3 separate regions of the Homo sapiens genome follow, and regions 1 and 2 are each linked to region 3. Evidence: promoter capture Hi-C in human tissues and cell types (Jung and others, 2019). All regions are on one chromosome and are shown on one strand. The core of a region is centred on a gene start or on the middle of the fragment in contact, and the rest is flanking DNA. Distances in the headings are between cores, read along the strand shown.

The links. Contacts are between HindIII fragments. The study calls those that stand out against the background at their distance.
Region 1: a fragment that was not itself captured here is called in contact with the fragment with the promoter of DLX1 in region 3 in 1 of the 25 tissues and cell types used here (lymphoblastoid cells).
Region 2: a contact is called between a fragment that was not itself captured here and the fragment with the promoter of DLX1 in region 3, in 1 of the 25 tissues and cell types used here (spleen).

The regions. Positions count from the first base shown.
Region 1 is chr2:171,558,515-171,562,265 of GRCh38, reverse strand. No RefSeq gene overlaps it. Among named protein-coding and RNA genes, the nearest start is that of CYBRD1, 38 kb to the right of the region's middle. The HindIII fragment of the contact is 4,703 bases long and covers 1-3,751 here.
Region 2 is chr2:171,540,792-171,544,520 of GRCh38, reverse strand. It overlaps CYBRD1 (cytochrome b reductase 1), which reads right to left. Exons shown (of 4, transcript NM_024843.4): 2 at 2,728-2,936. Among named protein-coding and RNA genes, the nearest start is that of CYBRD1, 20 kb to the right of the region's middle. The HindIII fragment of the contact is 5,525 bases long and covers 1-3,729 here.
Region 3 is chr2:172,083,329-172,086,920 of GRCh38, reverse strand. DLX1 (distal-less homeobox 1) reads right to left here and starts at 1,414. Exons shown (of 3, transcript NM_178120.5): 1 at 931-1,414; 2 at 68-267. The coding sequence starts at 1,243. RefSeq lists enhancers at 543-1,154, 1,186-1,305, 1,155-1,768, 1,769-2,380, 2,381-2,994 and a silencer at 1,586-1,695. The HindIII fragment of the contact is 6,806 bases long and covers 1-3,592 here.

The DNA.
Region 1 (3,751 bases), core at 1,042-3,541, 530 kb after region 3:
AAGAAGAGATGTGGACCCGGGGAATAAATGGTAAGGAGTTGTTTGAAATGCTTGTTCCCAGGTGCTGTAAAGAAATAGTACTTGAACATAAATTTAATTTATTTAGTAAGGCCATTTTTACTTCCTGCAGAAAGAGTACACTCACCAGAAGTTTTGCCCTTGGTGAGAAATGTATCCAGCCTATACCGGCTTATCCTCATTCCAAAACACTAAAGCAACTAACAGGGTTCCTTGGCATAACAGGCTTCTGCCGAATATGGATTCCCAGGTACGGCGAAATAGCCAGGTCATTATATACACTAATTAAGAAAACTCAGAAAGCCAATACCCATTTAGTAAGATGGACACCTGAAGCAGAAGTGGTTTTCCAGGCCCTAAAGGCCCTAACCAAGCCCCAGTGTTAAGCTTGCCAACAGGGCAAGACTTTTCCTTATATGCAACAGAAAAAAACAGGAATAGCTCTAGGAGTCCTTACACAGGTCCGAGGGACCAGCTTGCAACCCATGGCATACTTGAGTAAGGAAACTGATGCAGTGACAACGGGTTGGCCTCATTTTTTACTGGTAGTGGCAGCAGTAGCAGTCTTAGTATCTGAAGCAGTTAAAATGATACAGGGAAGAGATCTCACTGTGTGGAGACTTGTGGCTGTCAGACAACCATTTGCTTAAACATCAGGCTCTATTACTTGAGGGACCAGTGCTGCGACTGCACACTTGTGCAACTCTTAATCCAGCCACATTTCTTCCAGGCAATGAAGAAAAAAATAGAACATAACTGTCAACAAGTAATTGCTCAAACCTTCACCACTCGAGGGGACCTTCTAGAGATTCCCTTGACTGATCCTGGCCTCAACTTGTATACTGATGGAAGTTCCTTTGTAGAAAAAGGACTTCGAAAAGCGGGGTATGCAGTGGTCAGTGATAATGGAATACTTGAAAGTAATCCCCTCACTCCAGGAACTAGCGCTCAGCTGGCAGAACTAATAGCCCTCACTTGGGCACCAGAATTAGAAGAAGGAAAAAGGGTAAAAAGGAAAAAGGGTAAATATATATACAGACTCTAAGTATGCTTACCTAGTCCTCCATGCCCACACAGCAATATGGAGAGAAAGGGAATTCCTAACTTCCGAGGGAACACCTATCAAACATCAGGAAGCCATTAGGAGATTATTATTAGCTGTACAGAAACCTAAAGAGGTGGCAGTCTTACACTGTCGGGGTCATCGGAAGGGAACTGCCAAGTGGATATTGAAGCCAAAAGAGCCACAAGGTGGGACCCTCCATTAGAAATGCTTGTAGAAGGACCCCTAGTGTGGGGTAATCCCCTCTGTACTCAGCAGGAGAAATAGAATGGGGAACCTCACGGGGACATAGTTTCCTCCCCTCAGGATGGCTAGCCACCAAAGAAGGGAAAATACTTTTGCCTGCAGCTAACCAATGGAAATTACTTAAAACCCTTCACCAAACCTTTCACTTAGCCATTGATAGCACCCATCAGATGGCCAAATCATTATTTATGGGACCAGGCCTTTTCAAAACTATCAAGCAGATAGTCAGGGCCTGTGAAGTGTGCCAAAGAAATAATCTCCTGCACTGCAGGCCATACATTTCAATCCCTGTATCTTTAACCTCCTTGTTAAGTTTGTCTCTTCCAGAATCGAAGCTGTAAAACTACAAATCGTTCTTCAAATGGAGCCCCAGAAGCAGTCCATGACTAAGATCTACCGTGGACCCCTGGACCGGCCTGCTAGCCCATGCTCTGATGTTAATGACATCGAAGGCACGCCTCCCGAGGAAATCTCAATTGCACGACCCCTACTACGTCCCAATTCAGCAGGAAGCAGTTAGAGCGGTCTTTGGCCAACCTCCCCAACAGCACTTGGGTTTTCCTGTTGAGAGGTGGTACTAAGAGATAGGACTAGCTGGATTTCCTAGGCTGACTAAGAATCCCTAAGCCTAGCTGGGAAGGTGACTGCATCCACCTTTAAGCACGGGGCTTGCAACTTAGCTCACACCAGACCAGTCAGGTAGTAAAGAGAGCTCACTAAAATGCTAATTAGGCTAAAACAGGAGGTAAAGAAATAGCCAATCATCTATCACGTGAGAGCACAGGGGAAGGGACAATGATTGGGACATAAACCCAGGCATTCGAGCCGGCAACGGCAACCCCCTTTGGGTCCCCTCCCATTTTATGGAAGCTCTGTTTTCACTCTATTAAATCTTGCAACTGAAAAAAAAAAAAAGATGGGCTAGAGGCAGGAACCAAGTTCTTTGAATGCTGTGAGGAGAAACATTCCACCCAGACTGAGGCGTGGTGGGAGCAGGGGCAAAGGAGATGAAGCAGGAGCTGAAAAGCTCTAAAATCTGAGTTTTAGAGGAGATGCTGAATTCAGCAAGGTGTAGAAAGTTGGGTAGGATATTTGAGTATGTTTTACCAGATCCTCATGACCTTATTGTAGCTATTACAGGGCAGAAATTTGTCTTAAACCTAGCAGAGAACCACTACGTAGAATAATTTGCTATTCCATAAATATTCCTTTCTGTTGACTCCCAAATTTTTTTTTATTTTTTTATTTTTATTTTTATTTTTTGAGACAGAGTCTTGCTCTGTCACTTAGGCTGGAGTGCAGTAGCATGATCATGGCTCACTGCAGCCTTGACTTCCTGGACTTAAGTGATCCTCCCACCCTAGCCTCCTGAGTAGCTGGAACTACAGGCACATGCCACCACACCTAGATAACTTCTTAATTTTGTTTTTTTAGAGATGCGGTTTCACTTTGTTGCCCAGGCTGGTCTTAAACTCCTGGGCTTAAGTGATCTTCACACCTCAGCCTCCCAAAGTGCTAGGATTACAGGCATGAGACATTGCACCCGGCCAACTCCAAATTTTTAGACAGAGCTCTATTCCTTTAACCAATTGCATATTAAAGAGTCTCTGAATCCACCTATAAACTAAGCTTCTGTTTCAAGTTATCCCACCTTTTTGGGGCAAACCACTGCATACCTTCCATGCATTGATTTATGCCTTTCCCTATAACTCCTGCTTCCCTAAAATATCTAAAAGCAAACTGTAATTCCGACTGCTGGGGCACACTTTCTCAGGACCTCTTGAGACTGTGTTCCCCAGGTCATTGACACTTGTATTGGCTCAGAATAAACCTCTTTAAAATATTTTACAGGCTACTCTCTGCCTAGGGGGTAGCACTGCTCTACAGGAGCAGTCATGGTGCTGTAACACTGCCTCTTCAGTAAAGCTGTTTTCTTCCACCTCTGGCTTGCTCTTGAATTCTTTCCTGGGCAAAGCCAAAAACCTACATGGGCTAAGCTCCACGTTGGGGCTCCCCTGACCTGCATCAGTTTCTCTAATCTCTTACTGCTCAGGAGTCAAGTGGCCAGAGGTCACAAAATTTGTGACTTCCCCAGTTGCTCCTATAGATAACATCACTATTGTAGAACCTAAGATTGGTCAGGTAGTGAAGAGCTGACCCCATCTGGACTTGTGACTCATGACTTAATTGGTCCTGTGGCCCTCCTCCAGAGGGGGACTCAGTGCATGAGGATTGTTTTCTACACACCTATGATTGCATTCCCAACCAATCAGCAGCATCCATTCCCTTGCCCCTGCCCACCAAACTATCATTGAAAAACCCTAACCTCTGAGCCCTCAGGAAGACTGATTTGAGTGATAACTCCAGTCCTTCTGCTTGGCTGCTTTGCATTAATTAAACTCTTTACTGCGAAAAATTTTATAT
Region 2 (3,729 bases), core at 560-3,059, 540 kb after region 3:
TCTGTGTACTAGAGTAGAAAAGTAAAAGACAAAATTTTAATGCTCTTAGTAGAAAGCATAAGATGATATTTTGACCTCAGGGTAGAGAAGAATTTCATAAACAAGTCACCAAAAGAAAACAAAACAAAGAATGATAGTCTCAGAGGAAAAGATGATTAATTTGGTTACATTAAAATTGACAATTTCTGTTTATCAAAAGATGTTAACAACAGAGAAAATGCAAGCTTCAAACTAGGAGAAGATATAGCAATATATATAAATGAAAAAGAATTCGATATAGAATTCCTATAAATCTTTAAGAAAAAGAGAAACATTTTTTAAATAGACAAAAGACACAAACAGGTGTGTCTTAGAAGATAAAACACAAGTGAAATGAACATTAAAACTACAAGAATACATCATTAAGTACCAACTAGTTTAGCAAGGATTTAAAGTTTAAAGAGGGTGCAAGCTGGTAAGGATATGGGAACTCATAAACTTCTGGCAGGAATATAATCTGGGTCAATCACTTGGGAAAACAATTTAGCATTATCTTTTTAGGTTGAGCTTGTAATTTCACTACTATGTATATGCCCAGAGAAACCTTTAGATGTGAGGACCAGGAGATGTATATATGAATATTCAATGCAGCATAGTTTCTAACTGAAAATAGCAAGAGAACAGGTAAGTAAATTTGTGGCATATTTATACAGTGGAATACAAAAGTAAAAATGAATGAACTATAGCCAGAGGAATCAATACAGTTTAATCAGTAGAGTTAAAAAAAAGTTGCAATAGAATATATATGAGACCATTTTTTAAAAAAAGTTTCATTTAAAAAGCAAAATTAAACAATATATGATTTAATTAATCAATATTTAAACATCTTGTTTAATTAATCAATATTATTTAATTAAACATCTTGTTTAATCAATATATTGATTCACAGTATGTGATTAAAGTATTTTAAAAAGCAGAGAATGAGAATAAACACCGGGAGAATGGTAACCTCTAGGGGTTGGGGTAGGTAAGAACTTTATCTGGTTGAGGAGAAGAGATGAGGAGGAAGGAGAAGGAGAAGTCAGAGAGTTTCCAAGCCAGCGAGATGGACTGGATGTCCATTGCTGGTAGGGAGATGAAGGGAGCCGGGTACAAGGAAGAGAGGACTCCAAGGTTCAGGGCAGCCCCAGCTGATGGCCAGCAAGGGAACAGGGACCTCAGTCCTGCACATACAAGGACCTGGACTCTGCCATCAAGCTGAATTTGCTTTAAGCTGATTCTACCCTAGTCTCCCAATCAGAGCCCTGGAAGGCTGACACCTTGATACTGGCCTTGTTAGACCCAGAGCAGAGAAACCAGACAAGCCAATCTGGACTTCTGATGTACAGGTACTGTGAGGTCATAAATTTATGTTGTTTCAGGCCATTAAGTCTGTGGTAATTGGTTACCACAATAGAAAATGAATTATTTATGGATTTTTTTTTACCTTTATTGATTTACTTTTCCTGGTATATTTTGCTGTTCCCTTATAGTTACCTAAGTAAATAGCTTATGTATTTTAAGTTTTCTTTCCAAAAAATATAATAAAAGCATTTAAGCCTATATTCCTCTGGGAACCATTTTAATTAAACCCCAAAGATTTTTATTTATTTATTTTTTTGAGATCAGGGTCTGGCTCTGTTGCCCAGGCTGGAGTGCAATGGTATAATCTCAGCTTACTGTAACCTCTGCCTCCTGGTCTCAAGGGAGCTGTGCACCTCATCATCCCAAGTAGCCAGGACAACAGGTGTGCACCACCCTGCCCAGCTAATTTTTGTGTTTTTGTTTTAGAGATGAGGTTCCGCCATGTTGCCCAAGCTGATCTCAAACGTCTGGGCTTAAGCGATCCACTGGTCTCAGCTTTTCAAAGTGCTGGGATCACAGGAGTGAGCAGTGCACTATGCCCAGCCAGGACCCACAGATTTTTAAATAGGTATTCTCTTTATTGCTAATTGTTAGATCAGTCTCTCTCTTGATTTCTCTCTCTCTCGATCTCTCTCTCTGTCTTTCCTTTATTTGTAGAGACAGTCTCCCTATGTTGCCCAGTCTGGTCTTGAACTTCGGAGCTCAAATGATCCTCCCACCTCGGCCTTCGAAAATGCTGGAATTATAGGCATGAGCCAGCATGCCCAGCCTGATATTTCTTAATTTTACATATTAAGATATAGAGCAGAGTATAAGTTGGTTTTTAGAGAATCCAGATTAAAAGTCATATCCAGTATAAGAAATCTTTATTTCTTATTATTTTGTTCTGTGAATTCTGCAATTCTGGTGCTCTCTGAGGGGAAAATAGTTATAATAGAAACAAATGTAAAGAATGTTTAGAAAACATTTACAGTCACTGGGCGCGGTGGCTCACACCTGTAATCCTAGCACTTTGGGAGGCTGAGGCAGGCGGATCACCTGAGGTCAGGAGTTCAAGACTAGCCTGGCCAACATGGTGAAACCCCATCTCTACTAAAATACAAAAATTAGCCTGGCACGATGGTGGGTACCTGTAATCCCAGCTACTTGGGAGGCTGAAACAGGAGAATCACTTGAACCCTGGAGACAGTGGTTGCAGTGAGCCAAGATCGCAGCACTGCACTCCAGCCTGGGTGGCTAAGCGAGACTCTGTCTCAAAAAAAAAAAAAAAAAAAAAGAAAAGAAAACATTTACAGTCTCTGAATTGTTTTTATAACTTGCTTGTAAATACACTGAAATACTGACCTGTAACAAATAGCATATGACAGCTATCAGTCCAACCCAGCTGTGCAGACTGTACATATTGGCTATATTGTTAACATTGTGGTTCTCAAACACGGCCACCACAGAGATAATTGCAAGAATGGCAGCAACTGCATTTAACCCTGCATGGATGGATTTCATCAGGAGCTTGCTGCATTTCCAGGTCCACGGCAGTCTGTAGACGATGATGGCTAGGGAAAGACGAAAGGACACAGAATGTGTTTTGTTTTGTTTTTTAAACAACACAAAATGAACAGTTTGACACACTGGACACTCCCTTTTTGAAACCTTTTTCCCTTGGCTTTTGCTTCTCCCCTCTTCCCCATGTTACCCCTGCCTCTCAGTGGCTCCCTCTAGGGGACGGTGGAGGAGTTCCTTTGCTGGCATTTTCTTCACTCCCAACTTGTGAATGAACCTTGGTGCCTCTCAGGCTCGGTCCTAGGGCTTTTTCTCCCTCTGCACTCCCTCTTGTGGGTGATCTCATTCACTCTTTCACTGAAATGCTGTCTCCATGGCAGGGACTCCAAAAAATTTATATCTCCAGCCCAGAACTGTCTTCTAAGCTTCAGATCTGCATAATCCAATGTCTTCTTGGTATTTCCGTACGGCGTTTGCTTCCCAGACATCTCAAACTTATCCAAAACCAAATTCCTAATCTTAACAATCTGATTTATGCCTGTTGTCTCCTTTCTTCTTAAAAATGTCTCAGTTTGGCCGGGCCCAGTGGCTCATGCCTGTAATCCCAGCACTTTGAGAGGCTGAGGCGGGGTATCACTTGAGGTCAGCAGTTCAAGACCAGCCTGGCCAACATGGTGAAACCCCATCTCTACTAAAAATACAAAAATTAGCCAGGCATGGGGTGGCATGCACATGTAATCCCAGCTATTCTGGAGGCTGAGGCACGAGAATCGCTTGAACCCGGGAGGCAGAGGTTGCAGTGAGCCGAGATTGCGCCACTGCACTCCAGCCTGGGCAACAGAGGAA
Region 3 (3,592 bases), core at 165-2,664:
GAAGACCCGGGCGCAGGCCGGCCGCGGAAAGCCTGCGTGGCAGAACGGAGCGGCAGCGGCGAGGTACCTGAGTCTGTGTGAGTCCCAAAGAGGCCGCGAGCTCCGCCCTCTCCGGCAGAGCTAGGTACTGAGTTTGCTGGAACCTCCGGTTCAAAGCCTGCAACTGCAAACTGGAATAAATCGTCCTGGGTTTACGGATCTTTTTTCCCTTGCCATTGAAGCGCACTTCACCGCCTTCCACCACCGTGCTCTTCTCCGAGTCCGCCCCTGGAGGGACAGCAGAAGTAGGGCCCGTTGTTAATACGAGGGGCCGCCTTTAGTGCGAACAGCCGAGAGCGAGTGGCTACCGAAGGGTGGCGGAGGCAGCACCAGGGAGAGAACGTTCAAGAAACTCTGAAAGCCAGGGAAGGGTCCCCCAAAATCCGAGGGCCTGTCCCGGGACGCTGCAGGAGGGATAGAGCCGTTCCCAGGAGCTCAGCTCCTGCCTTTGCAGGGAAAGTTTGCTATTTTTGCAGGCGGTAGTTGAGGTTTAATTACCCTTAATTGCATACATTGTTTATAGCGCTACGCAATAAATAATTACCGAGACTAATACGTGCACATGTGGGTTTCTGTTTTCCAGCGGGGCATTGTGTGCTCTGCACACCGAGCCGCCCAGAGGCCCAGCCAGTGCCAGGAGACGCTCTGGGATTTATCCTTGGCTGGATAGTTGCAAATTGAGGGAATTTTTAAAAAAATTTATTTGCTGTGACAAGGATCTATAGATTGATATTCGAAACCTCCACTGCTCCCGCGCCCTCCCCACCCCCACCCCACCTCGCTCTCCTCTCTTCTCTTTCTCTCTCTCTCCCTCTCCTCTTCTCCCCCGCTCCTTCTTTCCCTCTCTCCCTTGTACCTCCTCCTCTCCCTCTCCCTGGCAAGCGCACGTACCTGGGTCCTCCAGGCGGCTCTGGGCGAGGCTGGCGCTGCCCGGGTAGGACTGCACCGAACTGATGTAGGGGCTGGATGCGTGGCTGCTGACCGAGTTGACGTAGGGGTAGCCCAGCGGTCGGGAGAAGGACGAGGCTGAGCTGTAGGCGCCGTCGGGCTGCGAATGGCCCGCCGAGTGTAAACAGTGCATGGAGTAGTGCCCGTGGGACATGGGAGAAGGAGACATTTGCTGGTTGGGCGGCCCAAACTCCATAAACACCGCCTTGCCCGACACGGGGCTGTTGAGACTTTCTGGCATGGTGGTCATGGTCATCTCTTCTCGCGGGGTCTGGGTGTGGGACTTTCTCTCCTCTGCTTCCCTTTTGGGGGTCTCTATGTTTCTCAGGACAGGAAGGAACCCAATTTAAGCGGAACAGGGGTTTTCACTTTCCATTCATAAGAAAATGGAGTTTGTCTCTTTGAAAAGTCTAAGCATGATGCTGCTGAGCTCCCCAAACTCGGTTCAAAGCTTTGACTCAGCGAAGGTCATAAATATTCATGAGCTGGCGGAGCTGATTGGTCCGCTGTCTTGCATAATCACTGGGGATTGGTCCGAGGCGCTCGGGCTCCGCTGGACTAGAGCGGGCGAGGCGGCCCGGCCTCGGGTAAGACGCATCCACACTTCCCGGCCGGGGCTCCTCTGCAACAGAGCGCGCCGGGCAGGAAGCACAATGGGCTGCGGCGTCTGCGCCGGGGCCCCTGCGGCCCGCGGCTCATCGGCCTCCCGCCTCCCTCGCGCGCTTTCCTCCCCAGGAACCAACCAGCGGCTCCGCGCCGCCGCCCCCCTACCACTGTCCCCACCCTTCAGCGGTCCCTAACACCGGACACCCGGGACCGCTTCTCGTCGCTGCCACTCAGTTCGGCGCAGAGCTAGGGCGGCTCAGGAGGAGACTGACCTCTGCCTCTGGAGCGCGGAGTCGCGCACTGGGGGCGCCCGAGGCGGCCAACAGACAGAGGTTCTCCTAAGAGCCTTGTGCCTAGCGCAGCGCCTATCCGGCCGCGCCTCCCCGGTACGCTCTGCCGCATCCCTGGAGTCGGGGCTTAGGGGCCCTCCCTGCGAACTCACTCACTCGGCCGCTGCGCCAACGCCGCTGTCGCTCCCTGGGGCCCGCTCGCATTGCTCCAGGCCCAGCTGGCCACTCCAGCTCGAGGCTGCACGGGTCTGATTAAAGCAGTGCGCGTGGAGAGCCAGGAACCCGCGCTTCTCCTCCCAGGAAAGGCGGCTGCACCGCCCCCTCCCCCAACACACACATCCTCTTTCCCTCCCAGCCTTCCTCCTCCTCCCCCTCCCTTCTCCACTCCCCATGCGCGGAGAGCCCCGGGCTCACTCGCCCCGAGAGCGCGGCTCAGCGTGGAGCCCAGGGGGCCTAGGGGCTCAGATCTGCTGGAGCCACCGACGCCAGGTGGTCATTTTCCGGCCTCCTGAGGTCTAGCGCGACTTCCAGAGTTTAGGAGTCCCTGGGGGACACCGAAACCCGCAGCAAACCCAGGCCTGTGGTAGGCTCCCTTATCTATGTGTAGACGTCTCTCGTTGCCACCCAGGATCTTCCTCACCTCCAGTGGCCAAAGCGCGCGCCACCAGGCCTAGGGGGCAGGGCTAGTGGAGGCAAGATCTGCCGCTGCTCCTTCTGTCTTCTGGGGTGCTAGGTACAAAAAAGTGCACAAGAGCCCCCACCCCATCGCCACTACTACCAATACAGCCAGTCCCTCGCGGTGTGGCGTACACCACCCTGGCTGTAAGTGGATGTTGGTTCCCCATCCCGCCAGCCCCACGGTGAATCCCAAATTACTTTGTTAGGTAATTAGAAAGTGTTGATAATTATTTCTTTCATAATTTAGCGGTGTGACGGGAACGGGGAAATGATCTTGTGAAAGTTCACACGTGCAGATGTATTAGTTACTGATTCATTTGATTAAATGGTAGTCTCAAGTGCTCAGATCCGCAGCTGAAGGCGCCCCATTAGCATAACACTGATGTTTAATTTTCATACGCATAATTAGCCATATATTTAACACTAATAGCAACATGCAGCCTTTCAGCGTTAAACAGCCCGGGATTTGATCTGGCCTGAGCTGAACCTTCATCGCTGCACCTTCCCCTGTCTGGAGTGTGCAATGATCACAGGACAAACCTCTGTAATCAAGCACATTTTGGCAGAGGGAACACCAATAAAAATGAACATTCAAAACAAATTACATCGGTGCTGTCGTTACAGATATTAGTAGAGGGGGTTTCTCTTTTTTTTTAACTTCTGTACCAGCTGCTGCTGCCCGCAGAATTCCTCTCCTTTGGTTTAAGGGCACAATGCTGGGGGCAGAAATATTTCAGGCAGAGTGGTTGGAGCAAAAAGAAAAGCAAAAGCAAAAAAAACCCAATACGCCAAACCAATAACGGGTTTGCCAACGTTTAAAAGATTTTTTTTTTCTTAATCACCGAACCACACGGTGAGGCTTTGTAGCAACAGCCAGCTAATGATTCCGCCACCAGGCAACTCCGGGAGCCGCTCGGCTCGTCCTGATTTCTGTGTCGCACTTGTGGTTTTAATTGCTCCTTCCTAGTGCCTGTTTTAGGGTATGGAGTGCCACGCCGTGTGCCCAGCACAGTCGCTCGGATACTGCCGGG